Regions from separate parts of the Homo sapiens genome. Here regions 2, 3 and 4 are each linked to region 1. Evidence: promoter capture Hi-C in 16 types of primary human blood cells and fetal thymus (Javierre and others, 2016). All regions are on one chromosome and are shown on one strand. The core of a region is centred on a gene start or on the middle of the fragment in contact, and the rest is flanking DNA. Distances in the headings are between cores, read along the strand shown. Region 1 holds the start of LINC02995 (long intergenic non-protein coding RNA 2995). Region 2 overlaps LOC105377731 (a long non-coding RNA gene). Region 3 overlaps LOC105377731 (a long non-coding RNA gene). Region 4 has its middle 8.5 kb from the start of C5orf47.

Region 1 (2,700 bases), core at 155-2,654:
CATAGTATATTTATAACCACTGCCCTTTTGATCCATATGCAGGCTGTGTCCAGGGTTCCACTAGTATAAAAAAGGATGCAGAGAAGAGCTTTGTGCAGCAGCCAGAGGGGTTCTTGCAGGGTAGTGGCCCAGCTGTGGAGTATGCACAGGTTACATTCCAATAAATACTGTTAGATTTTATTCCCAAGAGGTTGAAACTTTCCCATTCCCAGCAGTTGTGTTAGTGTGCCCATCCCCCTTGGTGCCATCGAGGGCATGCAGGCAGAAGGAACAGCCTGTGGAGAGGGGCGTGGATATGGTTTGGGGAATGGCAAGAAGTCCAGTGAGGCTGAAGGTTGGGTTGTAGTTGCTGGTTGCGAATGTAATCTATTTTATGCTCTGCAAATTTGATACACGATACCACGATATTTCATTGTAGTTTTTGTTTGCATTTCCCCAATTACCAGGAAGCAATATCATCTTTTTGTGTGTTTATGAGCCATTTGTGTTTTTTCTTCTGTAAACTTTATGTTCATATTTTTACACTTTCCCAATGGGATGTTTATCTTCTTGGTTTGTAGGTGCTCTAGTATTATGGGATGTTAGTCTTTTGTCAGTTACATTTGCACGAATATTATCTCATGGCGTGTTGCTCTTACAAACTCAAGTTTTTAGATAGTAACCTGGATTGTCAAATGCGACAAGACGGTTTCTCAGTCACAGCTGTGGAATGTGTAACGAGACAACCTCTCTGAAGGGCAGCTTGGTAATAGATACCAAATGTGCTTTAAATCGTGTACACTTGCTGATGCTGGTATTCTATATCCATCCTAAGGAAAGATCAGGGATAAAGACAGCAAGTTAGCTCTGAAGATGGTCATTCCAGTTTTGTTAATGATGTAACAATTTGAGAACCTTTACATGTCCAGTAATAGCGCATTGGAAAAATCAATTACATCTTAATCACTGGCAGGAATATAATGTTACCATGAAAAAAGATGCAATAAAACTGTGTTTTTGACTGTACTAGTAAATGAAAAAATTGATAGCATGAAAGATTTTGTCCAGTATTATTCCATTTTTGTAAAAATGTTTAAAGTTCAGGCTGATAAGATATACCCCAAAATGTTGATAATGATTTTTCTCTGCATGGAGCTATTATGGGGTAATCTTTACTGTCTTATTTTTGCTACTCTAAATTTTTTTTAAATTTCTACAAATAATATTAATTACTTTTATAATAAATATATATTTTTAAAATTATACATACATATATATATACACACACGTATGCATATATTTATACCTAATTTTTTCTTTTGACTATTGGTGGTAGACAGCTCCCAGATGATCCACAGGCCCTCAGTGAAACTTACCTCCTGTTATTCATGCTTTTGTGTCCTCTTTTCTCAAACTGAATCAGAGCTGGTCAGTGTTACCAGTAGAATACTGCAGAAGTGATGGTGTGTCACATCCAAGGCTAAGTCATAAGGGCATTGTGACTTCAACCTTTGCTCTTGGATCACTTGCCCTGGGGAAGCAGCTACCATGTTGTGAGGCTGCTCAAGTAGCCTTGTGGAGAGGTCCACCTGGAGAGAAAACAAGGCCTTTGCCGCAGCCGGCACCAACTTGCCAACCATCTGAGTCAGCCACCTTGGAAGTGGATCCTCCAGCCTCATTCCAGCCTTCAGATGACCACTGTCCCAGCTCATATCTAGACTGCAACCTCATGAGAGACCTGGAGCCAGAACACCCAGCTAAGCTGTTCCTGAATTCCCGACTCACAGAGACTGTGAAAGATAATATATGTTTGTGTCTGTTTTAAGTCACTAAGTTTTGGCTGTTGCCTAACAGTAGATAGCTGATATAAAGCTTAGTACCAGAAGTGGGGTGCTGATGGAACATAAACCTACCAATGTGGGAGCGTCTTTGGAACTGAGCAGAGGGCAGAAGCTGAAAGGACTTTGAAGAAAGTGTCAGAGAAAGCCTAAAGGGCACTGGAGAAGCCAGTAGTGGGAGGAGAATGTTGGTGAGGGTTTATAGGAAAGTGAGAACAATGCATTAGAGACTGGAAGAAAGGTGATTCTTGTTATGGAGAGGCAGAAATTAAGCAACACTGCAACAAGATGGAAAGCTCATAAATTGAATGATCTAGCTAAGGAGACTTTTAGGCAAGCCCAGATATTGGGCTCTTCCACTAAGAGTATCTTGCTACAAATATAAAAGAACCAGAAAATGCAGCCCTGCCCTTGGCCTTGGCCTCTGGGCGCCATCTCACTCAGTAGCATGAACTGTGCCCACTGGCCTCCTTGCAAGTGACTGATGCAGAAGGTGGAGAGTTGTCATGCTTGCTGGTTCCCAGGATGGTTCTCAGAAAGCTTGGAACTGAGGTGGAATCATGTTCGTGTTCCTCCCAGAGTATAGAGCAGTTAGACTCTCGGTACATTTCTGGAGAGAGATGGGGGTGAAGAGTGCTCAAGGGAAGAATTGAATCAATGCTCCCAGCACTCCACCCTGCCCATGGGAAGTCAGGTTGCACAGAGGCTAACCTGAAAACTCAGTCACAATGCTCCCTGGATCTGATCATATTTAGGGTATACTTTGGGGTGCCTGGGCCCCTCAGCAGGTGGGTCTGGACAGAGGCTGCACACTGCAGGTTCCTCCCATGTTTTTCTTCCTAAGGATGGAACCACTCACATGCATGATACTCACACACATGAC
Region 2 (2,700 bases), core at 48-2,547, 300 kb after region 1:
ATGTGCAGAACGTGAAGGTTTGTTACATAGGTATACATGTGCCATGGTGGTTTGCTGCACCTGTCAACCCATCATCTAGGTTTTAAGCCCCACATGCATTAGGTATTTCTCCTAATGCTATCCCTCCCCTTGCCCCTCACCCTGACAGTCCCCCGGGTATGATGTTCTCCTGTCTGTGTCCATGTGTTCTCTTTGTTCAGCTCCCACTTATGAGTGAGAACATGCAGTGCTTGGTTTTCTGTTCCTGTGTTAGTTTGCTGAGAATGATGGCTTCCAGGTCCATCCGTGTCCCTGCAAAGGACATGAATTCATTCTTTTTTATGGCTGCATAGTATTCCATGGTGTATACATGCTGGAGAAATAGGAATGCTTTTACACTGTTGGTGGGAATGTAAATTAGTTCAACCATTGTGGAAGATGGTGTGGCAATTCCTCAAGGATCTAGAACCAGAAATATCATTTGACCCAGCAATCCCATTACTGGGTATATATCCAAAGGATTATAAAAAGAGGTGAGTTTTATGGTATGTGAATTATATCTCCTTGAAAAGGAGCACACAGAGCTTCCAATCAGCTTCTGATTTAAACATAAACCGAGAAACGAGAATCCCCATAATCTTGAAGAATACCACCATGAAAGACAGACCAAACATAAAAGACTATGAAGAAACTCAGAGCACAGAGAGATCATGTACAGCTCAGAAAAACATCGAAGAATCATAGTTAATATTCTCTGTGTGATAAGAGAAGATATTGCTCCCATGAAACAGGAGATGCATACTATAAAAAAGGAAAAGTCAAAGAACGAGAAATTGCTCTGAGTAAAAATTTTTGTTTATTGCTGAGATGAACGAATCCTTCAATAAGAGGAAGATAAAGGATATTTAAAATAAAAAGCTTAGATAAACATAAAGTTCAGTATATCCTCCTGAAATATCCCTTGCAAAATAAAGAGCCAAAAAGATGGTAATAGGTAAGGAAAGATTGAAAAGAAATTAGAGAAGCAATTTGAGAAGCCTCACATGAAAATCTAAGTAATAGGAATTCCAGAAAATGACATCAGATAAAATGGTGAAATGGAAATTATCACAAAAAAATTCAAGAAAAGTTTACAGAATTGCAAAGCATGCATCTCCAGATTTTAAAAGCCTTCAAAGCCTCCAACATAACAAATGATAACAATAACTATGCAAAGGAACATAATTCTGAAATTTCAGAACAGCAAAGATAAAGAAAAGATACTGAACACATCCACAGAGAAAAAAAAAAAAAGCCAGTCCAGATACAGTGGCTAATGCCTATAATCCCAGCACTTTGGGAGGCCAAGGTGGGAGGATCATTTGGGCTCACCAGTTCAAGACCAGCCTAGGCAACAAAGTGAGACACCATCTATACAAAAAAATAAAAATAATAAGAATTAGCCATGCATAGTGGCATGCACCTGTATCCCAGCTACTGAGGAGGCTGAGGCAAAAGGATTGCCTGAGCCTAGGAGTTAAAGGCTGCAGTGAGCCATGTTCACACCACTGTACTCCAGCCTGGGCCAAAGAGAAAGACCCAGTTTCAAAAAAAAAAAAGAAAGAAAGAAAGAAAAGAAAAGAAAAACAGCCAAGTTACATACAAAAATATCAAGAAATAAAATAGTAACAGACTTCTCAACAGCTAGAGAAAAATAGGGAACTTACTTCAAAAGCTTAGGAAAAATGAATTTCAACATCTATATCCAGCCAGATTATAAATCAAGCGAAAAGACAAAATTAAGACATTGTAAGCATGCAAGATCTCAAGAATTCACCACTTGCACACCCTTCCTGAGAAAATTACTGAAGGACAGTATCCAGGAAAACAAAGAAGGCAGAGAATCAGGAGAAGAAGGAACCAACAGAAGAGAAAAGTAAACAGATTTCCCAGGAAATGGGTGAATGAAAATACCAGGATAAGCAGAAAGCTTATAGATCAGGAAGAGCAGGCTCTTCAAGAAAAAGACTGAACTGATGCATTATCTGATGGTTTGACCATAGAGAAAATGATATGGAGTGGCTAGCAGAGCTGTTGAAGAGCAAGTCAGATATTCAAAGAAAACCAAGCACATAGAAAAATTGTACAAGAAAGGAAACTTAATCACAGTAGACTATCAGGTTCAATGGTGAATACTGTTGAACCATGTTTTTACAATGCCATAATAATGTAAATACTGTATAAACATTTTATAAAATAATAAGTTCTATTGGAAGAAAAAGGAAAGAGAAAATATGCATGGAATAAAATCTTCATTTGCATAATTGAAGGTCAAACAATAATGGTCACAATTGATAAATCAAGAGATAGCTTAATATACATGTTACTTGGAAATATTGAAGCAAATACCCGAATAAATAGCAAATAGGCTAAAAGATGTTGTTTCTGGGAGTGGGGATGAGGATTAGTTGGGTGGCTGGAAGTGATAGGGCAAGATTCTTTTTTTCCACCCTGTCTCCCAGGCTGGAGTGTGATATCTGCTCACTGCAACCTCTGCCCCCTGGGCTCAGGCAATCCTCCAGCCTCAGACTCTCCTGAGTAGCTGGTACTACGGGCACACCACCATACCCAGCTAATTTTTGTATTTTTTGTAGAGACGAGGTTTCACCACGTTGCCCAGGCTGGTTTCAAACTCCTGGGCTCAAGTGATCCTACTGCCTCAGCCTTCCAAAGTGCTGGGAC
Region 3 (2,700 bases), core at 18-2,517, 290 kb after region 1:
GTGCCTGAACCTCATCCAAACCTGATCCCTGTGGCCCCAGAACTCACAGGAAAACCTCCTCTCATAGGAGGTTTTTAATGACACTGTGTTCATTGGCTCCTTGCTGCTGTATCTTTCTCCCCCAGTGTGTGTCTACTTCTGCCGGGCTCTCGCCCTCCCTCCTCACTCTGCATGGTGCACACACCCTTAGTGGCTGTGCATTTTCAGCTTGCTTCCTTCTTTTCTCTAAAAATCTCCGCTTTGCTCTCCCTTTATTTCGCCTTTCACGCACTGAGCAGCGATTCGTTTCCTATTCCACATCGCCACCTGGCGGCCATGGAGAGAGAACACCGCGCGTTTTTTATCAAGCGGGCAAAGGCAGGGGAATCCTCACGCCAAACGGGTTTGAAGACCTCTTCACACGGACGGCCAGGTCTCTACGGGACTCGCCCTTACACTAACTCCACTACAGCCCGCTCTGTCGGTGGAGGAAATAGACGTGGAAGGCTTCCCTTCATCACCTGGTGGCTGCCGGGCCACATCCTGTACAAGCCGGGGCCAGCTCTAAGTCTACCCCAAAGCCTCAGCGTGCCTCTTCCCTCTAACTCAGGCGAAAGTACCTTCAAGACAGTCCTGGACGCGGTGGCTTCACGCCTGTAATACCAGCACTTTGGGAGGCCAAGGCAAGAGGATCACTGGATCACTTGAGCCCAGAAGTTTGAGACTAGCCTGGACAACATAGTGAAACCCCTGTCTTTACAAAAATTGATTAATTAATTAATTGTTTAAAAGAGACTATTCCTCATTCTTTTGACATCATTTTAAATGAGAATGCAGAATATGACATTGTACATACTGATATTTGATTCCTTTTATATAACCTTTCATGTATTAAAAAACTGCACTGAAAATCTAGAATTAAGTTAAAATTGGTGTGGGTTATTTGTGAATGGTGGGATTTTTTAAATGTATTCCAACACCCATATATTCCAACTTTTCCACACTTCCAAAGTCTGGAATACTTTGAGGATGGGGAGGAAAGATATGTTTACGGTCCTTGGGAAACTGAAAAGCATTTCCTGTGATGTCCCAGGGAGCTGGGGCACAGGAGCCAGCCTTGAAGTGGAAACCCCAGGCCATCCACTCACAATCTGAGTATCCTTGGGTGAGTGATCTCTCTAACCTCCCATCGAGTCCCCTGTAAACTAGAAATAATTATAGCTGCCCACATCACTGTCTTACTATAAGAGTAAAATGAGATAATGTATTTTAAAACATTGGTATAGTGTGAGTATTCAATAAATATTCTTTGAGTGAATTTAGTGCATTGTTTTGTTTTGTTTTTTTGAGATGGAGTCTCACTCTCACCCAGGCTAGAGTGCAATGGCTCGATCTCAGCTCACTGCAACCTCCGCCTCCCAGGTTCAAGCGATTCTCCTGCCTCAGCCTCCCGAGTAGCTGGGATTACAGGCGCCTGCCACCACGCCTGGCTAATTTTTGTATTTTTAGTAGAGACAGGGTTTCACTATGCTGGCCAGGCTGGTCTCGAACTCCTGACCTCAGGTGATTCGCCCGCCTTGGCCTCACAAAGTGCTGGGATCACAGGCATGAGCCACCGCGCCTGGCCGAATTTAGTGTTTTATATACTTTGGATTGATCAGTTTAATGCAAGTGACAGAAATCCAACTCAATCCAGTTAAAAAAAAAAAAAAGGAAAGATAGAATATATTGAGTTATTAAACTGAAAACTAAAAAGATTAGGGTTTCAGGCACAGCTACATCAGTGTGCTCAAATGGTGCCATTAGAAATCTGCTTTCTCTGTCTACAGCCACACCGCCCTGGACATGCCTGGTCTTGCCTGATCTCAGGAGCTAAACAGGGTCAGGCCTGGTTAGTATGAGAAAGGGAGAAATCTGCTTTGTCTGTCTCTTGGTTCTTCTTTCCTCTGTACTGACTCAAATCTCAGGCAGTCTCTTTCAACACAATGGCAAGATGGCCCCCCACCAGGCTGCAGCTGACATCTCAGCTTCTCAGGGCCTTAGTAGGAAGAGAGCTTCTCTTTCCCAATAATTCCAACAAAATTCCTCAATGCTAATCCAAACACTAAGGCAATGCAGCCTGACCATCAGGCCTGGGAAGTCACTAGCACTCCTGCAGGAAAGGGGGTCAGGACCTGCCCTGCCCAAACCACATGATTACTTGGGGTGTTTTCCCAAAGGAAACTGGAGATGTCCTCAAAGTGCACATTAATCAAATTCAGCACAAAGCCTGTCATAAACGCAGGGTTACACTGCCCTTAAGATTAAAATGCTGATGATTAGCTTAAATACCTGTGGAAAGAGCCACAGGGCAGTGGGAGTCCAAAACGCGGATTCCACTCACAGCTATATCACTGTGTGACCTTGAATAAGCAGCGTGGCCTACCCAGGTCTCAGTTTCTCCATCTGTCCAATCAGGGGTTGGACTAGAATCCGGGCTCACATCCCTCCAGGGCTATGCAGTTAGGAAATGAGCGCAGTGGCCAGGTCAGCACAGCAGGAAGTGGCGGGGCCCTAGGAGACCTGTGAGTGCAAGTCCCATTTAGCATTGTGATGCCAGCTGTGTGCTACGAGGTCCTCTGATTTTTCAAGGCATTCTATGAAATCTCCTGATTTTTCAGTGTTAAAAACTAATTGTGATGGTTGCACAACTCTGAATTGCACCCTTGACTTGTACATTTC
Region 4 (2,700 bases), core at 20-2,519, 400 kb before region 1:
TTTGTCATAATTTTGACCAAGCATGAATTTTCCAGGGCAGAATCAAGCAGGGAGGAGGAGGGCAAATGGGAAGTGCAGATGTGAGCACAGAAGCTGCAGCAAGCAGAGAAGGGCAAAGCCTCAAAGCCCTGCTTGTTTTCTTAGTGGAGAGGCTTGTAGTCTGGGGCAAGATCTCAGCCCTGCTCACTGGATGACTGGATATAAACTTTGTGTGTTGTTGGTGGGGCATGGAGGGAGTGAGACTGGCCTTGCTGGCTGCGTGGGAGCTGAGGCCTGTCATGGCCAGCTTTCCCTGACTTCCCTGGCAACCTGTATGATGCGGCAGAGGTAGCCTTAATCCCCCTGGGAACATAACTCCATTGGCCTGAGACCTACACTCAATCCCCACAGCAGCCACAGCAAGCCCCTGCCCAAGAAAAGCTTTAAGCTCAGACACACCAGCCCTGCCCCCACCTGATTGTTTTTCTCTACTCACCCTGGTAGCTGAAGACAAAAGACCTTAACTCGTGGGATCTCTTTGACCCTGCCCATCGCCTGAGAAACCCGAATACTTATCCAGGTGTTTAGGGCAAGCTTGTATTCTCCCCATACTACTACAGCTGATGCTGTCTTGAAAGTGCCACCTCCTGGCTGGTGGCCAACCAACTCATGCTGTCATGGCAACTCATAAAAACCCTTCTCCAAGAAGGGAGAAGACAACAGCTAATTCCACTGTCTGCAACATCCTGGATAACCAGAAGTCTTGAGTCTGTCCATGTGACAACTTCACTGCTAATGCAACCAGCATTCAAGAAAGCTAGCACACTAAACAAAACTACAGCTAAGGATCCTCACCAAGGACCCTCACCAGAGCAGGAGCTGGTATCCACAGCTGAGAGACTTGAAGATGGATCACATCACAGGACTCTTTGCAGACACTGAGCCTGGTAGCTCAGCTGGGTGGCTAGACCCAGAAGAGCAAAAACATTTACTGCAGTGTGGCTCTCAGAAAGCCCCATCCCTAGGGGAGAGAAGAGAATACCACATTAAGGGTCCATGGGACCAAAGAATCTGAACAGCAGCCCTTGAGCCCCATATCTTCCCTTTGACATAGTCTACTCAAGTAAGAAGGAACCAGAAAAACAATTCTGGTCATATGACAAAACAGAGTTTTTTAATGCCCCCCAAAGGTCACACTAACTCACCAGCAATGGATCCAAACCAAGAAGAAATCTCTGAATTGCCAGAAAAAGAATTCAGAAGGTCAATTACTGAGCTACTCAAGGAGGCACCAAAGAAAGGTGAAAACCAACTTAAAAAAATTCTTTAAATAATACAAGATATGGATAAAAAAATCTCCAGAGAAATAGCATAAATAAAAAACAATCACAGCTTCTGGAAATGAAAGACACAAAGAAATGCAAAATCCACTGGAAAGTCTCAACAAGAGAATCAAACAAGTAGGAGAAAGAACTTCAGAACTCGAAGATAGGGCTTTCAAATTAACCCAATCTGACAAAAACAAAGAAAAAAGAATTCTTTAAAACTGGACAAAGCCTCCAAGAAGTTTGAGCTGATGTTAAATGACCAAATCTAAGAATAATTGGTGTTCCCGAGGAAGAAGAGAAATCCAAAAGTTTGGAAAACATATTTGAGGGAATAATCAAGGAAAACTTCCCTGGCCTTGCCAGGGATCTAGACATCCAAATACAAGAAGCTCAAAGAACACTTGAGAAATTCATCGCAAAAAGATCACCTAGGCACATAATCATCAGGTTATCTAAAGTCACGATGAAGGAAATAATCTTAAGTGCTGTGAGGCAAAAAGCATCAGGTAACCTACAAAGGGAAACCTATCAGATTAACAGCAGATTTCTCAGCAGAAACCCTACAAGCTAGAAGGGATTGGGGTCCTTCCTACCTTTAGCCTCCTTAAACGAAACAAATATCAGCCAAGAATTTTGTATCCGGCAAAACTAAGCTTCATAAATGAAGGAAAGGTATTTTTCAGACAAACAAATGCAAAGAGAATTTGCCACTACCAAGCCAGCAGTACAAGAAGTACAAAAAGGAGTTCTAAATCTTGAAACAAAACCTCAAAATATGCCAAAATAGAACCTCCTTAAAGCATAAATCTCACAGGGCCTATAAACAGTAACACAAAGAAAAACCAAGGTATTCAGGCAACAACTAGCATAATGAATAGAATAGTACCTCACACCCCAATATTAACACTGAATGTAAATAGCCTAAATGCTCCAATAAAAGATACAGAATGGCAGAATGGGTAAGAATTAACCAACCAAGTATCTACTGTCTTCAAGAGACTCACCTAATACATAAGGACTCACATAAACTTAAGGTAAAGGAGTGGAAAAAGATATTCCACGCGAATGGACACCAAAAGTGAGCAGGAGTAGCTATTCTTATATTAGACAAGACAGACTTTTAAACAATTAAAAAAGACAAAGAGGGGCATTATATAATAATAAAAGGACTAGTCCAAAAGGAAAATATCACAATTTTAGATATATATGCACCTAACACTGGAGCTCCCAAATTTATAAATAATTACTACTAGACCTAAGAAATGAGACAGATGGCAACACAACAGTAGTGGGGGACTTGAATACTCCACTGACAACACTAGACACGTCATCAAGACATAAAGTCAACAAAGAAACAACAGACTTAAACTATACCCTAGAACAAATGGACTTA

What was found. Contacts are between HindIII fragments. The CHiCAGO score rates a contact against its expected background, and 5 or more counts as called.
Region 2: a fragment that was not itself captured here is called in contact with the fragment with the promoter of LINC02995 in region 1 in 1 of 17 cell types (endothelial precursors); the score reaches 5.8 in endothelial precursors.
Region 3: a fragment that was not itself captured here is called in contact with the fragment with the promoter of LINC02995 in region 1 in 6 of 17 cell types (endothelial precursors, M1 macrophages, M0 macrophages and 3 more); the score reaches 15.2 in endothelial precursors.
Region 4: a fragment that was not itself captured here is called in contact with the fragment with the promoter of LINC02995 in region 1 in 3 of 17 cell types (neutrophils, erythroblasts and megakaryocytes); the score reaches 7.9 in neutrophils.

What each region holds. Positions count from the first base shown.
Region 1 is chr5:173,578,338-173,581,037 of GRCh38, reverse strand. LINC02995 (long intergenic non-protein coding RNA 2995) reads right to left here and starts at 1,404. Exons shown (of 4, transcript NR_027108.2): 1 at 1,356-1,404; 2 at 663-809. The HindIII fragment of the contact is 2,712 bases long and covers 1-1,853 here.
Region 2 is chr5:173,274,141-173,276,840 of GRCh38, reverse strand. All of the region lies in intron 2 of LOC105377731 (a long non-coding RNA gene), which reads right to left. Among named protein-coding and RNA genes, the nearest start is that of MIR12118, 28 kb to the left of the region's middle. The HindIII fragment of the contact is 796 bases long and covers 900-1,695 here.
Region 3 is chr5:173,291,724-173,294,423 of GRCh38, reverse strand. The region is part of intron 3 of LOC105377731 (a long non-coding RNA gene); the gene reads right to left. It overlaps LOC124901136 (a long non-coding RNA gene), which reads left to right. Exons shown (of 2, transcript XR_007059055.1): 2 at 279-1,297. It also overlaps the pseudogene RNA5SP200. Among named protein-coding and RNA genes, the nearest start is that of MIR12118, 11 kb to the left of the region's middle. RefSeq lists enhancers at 409-578, 1,706-1,955. The HindIII fragment of the contact is 2,998 bases long and covers 1-2,700 here.
Region 4 is chr5:173,979,317-173,982,016 of GRCh38, reverse strand. No RefSeq gene overlaps it. Among named protein-coding and RNA genes, the nearest start is that of C5orf47, 8.5 kb to the left of the region's middle. RefSeq lists an enhancer at 162-663. The HindIII fragment of the contact is 1,387 bases long and covers 576-1,962 here.